2 separate regions of the Homo sapiens genome follow, and region 1 is linked to region 2. The links are contacts of gene promoters, found by promoter capture Hi-C in human tissues and cell types (Jung and others, 2019). All regions are on one chromosome and are shown on one strand. Each heading gives the region's core, a stretch centred on a gene start or on the middle of the fragment in contact. The rest is flanking DNA. Distances are from core to core; before and after follow the strand shown.

What was found. Contacts are between HindIII fragments. The study calls those that stand out against the background at their distance.
Region 1: a fragment that was not itself captured here is called in contact with the fragment with the promoter of CDKN1B in region 2 in 1 of the 25 tissues and cell types used here (psoas muscle).

Annotation. Positions count from the first base shown.
Region 1 is chr12:14,261,731-14,265,348 of GRCh38, forward strand. No RefSeq gene overlaps it. Among named protein-coding and RNA genes, the nearest start is that of ATF7IP, 100 kb to the right of the region's middle. The HindIII fragment of the contact is 3,925 bases long and covers 220-3,618 here.
Region 2 is chr12:12,715,222-12,718,617 of GRCh38, forward strand. It overlaps CDKN1B (cyclin dependent kinase inhibitor 1B), which reads left to right and starts at 2,147. Exons shown (of 3, transcript NM_004064.5): 1 at 2,147-3,093. The coding sequence starts at 2,619. It also overlaps a transcript of GPR19 not described here. RefSeq lists silencers at 1,531-2,100, 2,525-2,713 and enhancers at 2,121-2,170, 2,251-2,350. The HindIII fragment of the contact is 13,879 bases long and covers 1-3,396 here.

The sequences.
Region 1 (3,618 bases), core at 932-3,431, 1.5 Mb after region 2:
GGTTTCCCAAAGTGGTGGGATTACAAGCGTGAGCCACCTTGCCTGGAAAGACACTTACATTTCAGTAGATAAAGTTAATTTACCCCGCTTTAGGAAGTCAAATTAATGGATCTTTGTAGTGAATTTCTAAAGACTCTTACATTGTTATAATCTTCCTCCCCAAAGTTTGATTCTTGTATTCAACATTAATTCAACATTCATTGAAAACTTCCTAACAACCAGGCAATATGGTACTATTGGCTACGCTGGGCTTGTGAGTTTTAAAAATCACATAAAGCGTGGAATGTACTTTCAAAGAGCTTACAGGCTGGGAAGATACACAGGAAGTCAGCTATTCCAGAGTGACATGGCATATCCTTTATAAGGATAGGAAAAAGAGGATGTGATATGGGAGAAAAGAGGAGGGACATGAAAAACAGTAAGGTTGAGTGGAGTGAGATATAGCCAGTGAGTTTCTCAGAAAGAGCTGAGAAATGAGATGGAGTTAGCTAGAATAAAACCAGAGCTAGCAGTCAGAAAAACAGAATTTTCTTTCTTTTTTTTTAGACAGAGTCTCACTCTGTCACCAGGCTGGAGTGCAGTGGCGCCAATCTCGGCTTACTGCAACCTCTGTCTCCCAGGTTTAAGAGATTCTCCTGCTCAGCCTCCCGAGTAGCTGGGATTACAGGCACTCACCACTATGCCCAGCTAATTTTTTGTATTTTTAGTAGAGACGGGGTTTCACCATGTTGGCCAGGCTGGTCTTAAACTCCTGACCTCATGATTCGCCCACCTCGGCCTCCCAAAGCGCTGGGATTACAGGCGTGAGCCACCGCGCCTGGCTAGAAAAACAGACTTTTCATTCCAGATGTATTAACAAACAGGTCAGCTACCAGCCAGAATTAAAAGAACTCAAACGCTAAGACAAAGCAAGGAGTCTGAAGTCCACTAGGTCAGTAGCTTTTCAGGACCTGAAACAGGTGGACTAGCCCAGCAGAAGAACAGATCTGTTTCCTTACCCAGAAACTTCCAAACATCCTATCAGGATAATAACTAAGCTACTAGCACGAAAACCCTGAGAAAAGGTGAGCTATTGACATGCAGATTTCAACATCCAAAGCACTTTAAAATTTCAACATGTTATTTATAACTTTAGATTTCTTAGCAAAACTACACATTACTGGACCTAATATTAGAAGAGTAATTATTAGATACATGATCATGAGTCAGTACTAATGTTTTCACTAAAGTTTTCAAGTAGTCTGCTAAGACCTGTTCACACATGCTAGGCTAAGATCTAGCAGCAATTAAGTTAGGATTTATCCCTGTGCCACATACCCTAACATCCAATCTATTTAACCACTTTGACTCTTAAAGGGCAAAGAAGAAAGAGAGATTCCTTAAAAGATACGGGGACTTGTAGGGGCTGAAGTAGAGAAAGTTTGTTGCTGTTGTAACATCCCAATTTCGAGTCCCTTAGTAAGCACGTTTTCCAGACCCTGATTTTCTTTTCTTTTTTTCTTTTTTTTTGAGACAGGATCTGGCTCTGTTGCCCAGGCTGGAGTGCAGTGGTGTAATCACAACTCACTGCCGTTGCCTCTCAGGCTTAAGTAATCTTCCCACCTCAGCCTCCACAGTAGCTGGGACTACAGGTATGTGCCACCATGCCTGGGTAATTTTTCTATTTTTTGGGTAGAGACAGGGTCTCGCCATGTTGCCCTGGCTCAAGCTATCCACCTGCTTCAGCCTCTCAATGTGCTGGGATGACAGGCGTGAGCCACCACACCCAGATCCAGACCCTGATTTTCCCTTGCTGGTACTCATCAGTGATGTTAAAATATTTCAGTTTTCGGACCGGGCACAGTGGCTCACGCTTGTAATCTCAGCACTTTGGGTGGCTGAGGCGGGGGGATCATGAGGTCAGGAGTTTGAGACCAGCCTGGCCAATATGGTGAAACCCCATCTCTACTAAAAACTACAAAAATCAGTCGGGTGTGGTGGCGCACGCCTGTAGTCCCAGCTACTCAGGAGGCTGAGGCAGGAGTCACTTGAACCCTGGAGGCAGAGGTTGTAGTGAGCTGAGATCGTGCCACTACACTCCAGCCTGAGCGACAGACGGAGACTCTTGTCTCAAAAAAAAAAAAAAAATTTCAGTTTCTGGTCACAATGTAATATTGTATGACCTGACCTCTTTGAAATTAGACCTTCTGTCAATAAGGTAAAAGAGGAGGTAATATGATATGTGTAACTTCCAGGAAAAAGCTTTCAGATCTAATAAACAATTTGTCACTGTTTGAGAGATCAAGGAAGCAAGTGTTGAGTTGAAACCTCTTTGAGCCAAGATCTCCTTGCCAAGGCACATTAGACATGTAGTATGAGGAAGAAACAAACTTTTGGTGTGTTAAGCCATTGAGAGAATTGGTGGATATTTGTTATACAGTACAACCTAAATTAGCTTGATTAGTCACCTGTCGATATCTGTTTCTGTACCCTCATTTCTTCCCATCAGAAGCTGTGTCTTCTACACAGTCCTAGGCTTCAGAAGACACTGACTCCAGCTCCAGCTCCACAGGGTGGTTCAGTATAAGAATCATGGTAATATTAGTTCCTAATCACTAACTGGTTTAGTAAGTTTGCCAGGAAGTCTCAGCAGTTTCTCAGAGAGAGAGAGAAAGGATGTGCCTTTCTCCCTCTGGATGTTTTTATGACAATTATTTTATTATCTCACGGTTCTGTGAGTCAGGAATTCAGGAGCAGCTGAGCTGGACAGTTCTGGCTCAGATTCTCACATGAGGTTCCATTCCAGACATTTGCCAGGGCTGCATTCATCTGAAGGCTTGACTGGGGTTAGGGAATATACTTCCAAGATGGCTTATATGGCTGTTGGCATAAGTTCTCAGTTCATTGCTGGCTCTTAGTAGAAGACCACAGTTACTTACCCTGTGATCCACTCCATGGGGTTACTTGAATGTCCTCCTGTCGTAGTAGCTGGCTTTCCCCAGAGTGATCCCAACAAAAAGAACAGGAGGAAACCATTATATTTTATGTCCTAATTTTAGGAACAACACACCATCATTTCGACTTCATTTTATTCATTAAAGGAAGTCATTAAGTCTAGCCCACATTTAGGAGGAGGGGAATTAGGCTGCACTTTTGCAGGGAAGGAGGAATATTAAGGAATTTGTGGACATATTGTAAACCACCACAGATGTAACAGCAGGAAGTGCTGTTGCCATATTGAGTAACAGGAGGATCTAGCCTAAGGGTAAACCCTAACAGAGAGGAAAGCAGAACAGACATGGAAAGAATTTTGATGACATCACTGAGCCACTGATCTTACCATGCCTGGAACCTACGCTGGACTACTTAGTTATGTGAAAAAAAGTAAATTTCTTCCCTTACCATTTCAGTCTGTTTGAATGAGGTTTGCTGATATTTCCTGTAGGGAATGAAATCAACGTATCTAACCCACAATACATATTGTAAATTAACCTAGATATCAATATATAAATGTAAACATTTGAAAAATATAATCTCCATTTCTAAATTATTTAAATTATATATGTATAAAACTGCTTATTCAATTACATATACAGTTATATATGTATGTGTATGTATAAAACTGCTTACCATATAAGT
Region 2 (3,396 bases), core at 897-3,396:
GACAATTATCTAATTTCTAGGGTAAGGTATAAATTATGGTAGGGAGGCCTACCCTAATTTTCCTGTTCCTTTTCCCCCAGTCTGCAGTCCAATAAATTGACAGCCTTAAAAGTAGAAAAACTAAAGAGGATGAGACCTCTTGCTTGATCCTAGGTGAATTCTTTTCTGTCAGTTAGGTAGGAAGTCCTGACTTGAAAACTAGTTCTGGGCACTGCCCCCTTTACTGTTCTCTGGGTATCAACCCCTGTCCTTCAATTTTAGTTGAACTAGTGGATGGTGATACCACAGGCTCAAGACAGCTGCATTTAAATATCAGTGACCACAGGCCACATCAAGGAAACATCTGCAGGCAACCCAGGGCCTGGGAAGGAGCCATTTTCAGTCACTTGTAAGACAGCAGGACCTGCAGACTACAGCACAATCAAACTCAGACAAAACCCTGAACCAGTGAGAACCATTAGGAAGGAAAGGAACAGAAAATGAACCAACCTGAGTGTTAGGAGACTTGCATCTAGTCCTGACTCCGGTACCAACCGAATGCATGTCCCTGGACAGGAAACCTCTCTGAGTCTCGATTTCCTCCGTGGTAAAAAGGAGAGGGTTAAACCACAGGGTCCCGAGGGTCCCTTCCAGCTGTCACATTCTGGAGCGTATGAGATGAGGTAGGCACACAAAGTGGACAAGATGTGGCTAAGAAAACAAGCTACACATCAAGCTCATCTGTAGCATAGGTGCTTAAGAAAACTTTGCTGCTGTGTAATATTAGAACGGAAGGTTGGTTTCCAGTAAAATGCATTAACTTTGGCTCAAACCAAGATGATGGGTACCGGGCATGGGGGTGGGGAGGCAGTTGAAGATCCACTGAGCTTTGTCTCAGGGCAGCCCTGCTCATCGTCCTACTTTACCTTCCACCACGGTGCTCAAGCCCACACTGAGAGAGAAATTTCCAGCTGCAAAAGGGAGAAGAGAAACGCTGGAATACTAGTATCGGACGTTAGGACATGGTTGTGGTGTTTTAAAAATCATTTCATCATCTGGAGTTTGACCCCGAGGGGAGTATTTTCACCCTTCAGCCCTCTGAAAGCATTCACTAGCATCTGAATATTGTTCTGAGTTTGTTGGAGCAGTGAAATCTGGTGAGAGAGAAGGGTGGAGGAAGGAAGGAGCTGTTGTATTTGGCGGCTGGACTCAGGTAGAGGAAACTGCTACAATCCCGGGAAAGAACAGAAAAGTAGAAAGGGACGAGTTCCCACACGCAGCCAATGTCCATGGCCTTAACTGTGCTTGGGAAGGAAGATCCTGGGCCAGGGGTGTACCCTCGTTTTTCAAAACTAAACGTGTCTGAGACAGCTACAAAGTTTATTAAGGGACTTGAGAGACTAGAGTTTTTTGTTTTTTTTTTTTAATCTTGAGTTCCTTTCTTATTTTCATTGAGGGAGAGCTTGAGTTCATGATAAGTGCCGCGTCTACTCCTGGCTAATTTCTAAAAGAAAGACGTTCGCTTTGGCTTCTTCCCTAGGCCCCCAGCCTCCCCAGGGATGGCAGAAACTTCTGGGTTAAGGCTGAGCGAACCATTGCCCACTGCCTCCACCAGCCCCCAGCAAAGGCACGCCGGCGGGGGGGCGCCCAGCCCCCCCAGCAAACGCTCCGCGGCCTCCCCCGCAGACCACGAGGTGGGGGCCGCTGGGGAGGGCCGAGCTGGGGGCAGCTCGCCACCCCGGCTCCTAGCGAGCTGCCGGCGACCTTCGCGGTCCTCTGGTCCAGGTCCCGGCTTCCCGGGCGAGGAGCGGGAGGGAGGTCGGGGCTTAGGCGCCGCGGCGAACCCGCCAACGCAGCGCCGGGCCCCGAACCTCAGGCCCCGCCCCAGGTTCCCGGCCGTTTGGCTAGTTTGTTTGTCTTAATTTTAATTTCTCCGAGGCCAGCCAGAGCAGGTTTGTTGGCAGCAGTACCCCTCCAGCAGTCACGCGACCAGCCAATCTCCCGGCGGCGCTCGGGGAGGCGGCGCGCTCGGGAACGAGGGGAGGTGGCGGAACCGCGCCGGGGCCACCTTAAGGCCGCGCTCGCCAGCCTCGGCGGGGCGGCTCCCGCCGCCGCAACCAATGGATCTCCTCCTCTGTTTAAATAGACTCGCCGTGTCAATCATTTTCTTCTTCGTCAGCCTCCCTTCCACCGCCATATTGGGCCACTAAAAAAAGGGGGCTCGTCTTTTCGGGGTGTTTTTCTCCCCCTCCCCTGTCCCCGCTTGCTCACGGCTCTGCGACTCCGACGCCGGCAAGGTTTGGAGAGCGGCTGGGTTCGCGGGACCCGCGGGCTTGCACCCGCCCAGACTCGGACGGGCTTTGCCACCCTCTCCGCTTGCCTGGTCCCCTCTCCTCTCCGCCCTCCCGCTCGCCAGTCCATTTGATCAGCGGAGACTCGGCGGCCGGGCCGGGGCTTCCCCGCAGCCCCTGCGCGCTCCTAGAGCTCGGGCCGTGGCTCGTCGGGGTCTGTGTCTTTTGGCTCCGAGGGCAGTCGCTGGGCTTCCGAGAGGGGTTCGGGCTGCGTAGGGGCGCTTTGTTTTGTTCGGTTTTGTTTTTTTGAGAGTGCGAGAGAGGCGGTCGTGCAGACCCGGGAGAAAGATGTCAAACGTGCGAGTGTCTAACGGGAGCCCTAGCCTGGAGCGGATGGACGCCAGGCAGGCGGAGCACCCCAAGCCCTCGGCCTGCAGGAACCTCTTCGGCCCGGTGGACCACGAAGAGTTAACCCGGGACTTGGAGAAGCACTGCAGAGACATGGAAGAGGCGAGCCAGCGCAAGTGGAATTTCGATTTTCAGAATCACAAACCCCTAGAGGGCAAGTACGAGTGGCAAGAGGTGGAGAAGGGCAGCTTGCCCGAGTTCTACTACAGACCCCCGCGGCCCCCCAAAGGTGCCTGCAAGGTGCCGGCGCAGGAGAGCCAGGATGTCAGCGGGAGCCGCCCGGCGGCGCCTTTAATTGGGGCTCCGGCTAACTCTGAGGACACGCATTTGGTGGACCCAAAGACTGATCCGTCGGACAGCCAGACGGGGTTAGCGGAGCAATGCGCAGGAATAAGGAAGCGACCTGCAACCGACGGTAATGACCCTTTCCCAACCATAGAATGTGTTTGGGGCCCCGCTTTGCCTGCTGGAGGGTGTTAACCTTAGCTTGCTTTTCGGCGTATTCTGATTTAGCTTTGGGAGAGCTAACTTTATTGGTCTTAGGTGTTCAGTGCTACCTGGCCCACTGCTTGTCTGTTTGTGACTTTTAAGTCAGAAACTGGAGATGGTAAGATCCGATAATTTCCCTAACTTAATACATCGCGGTCCCTCTCACTAGCAACTCCTAGGTATGTGACAAAGTTGGGATGTTTATCAACGGTCCGCCTCCTGGCTAGGG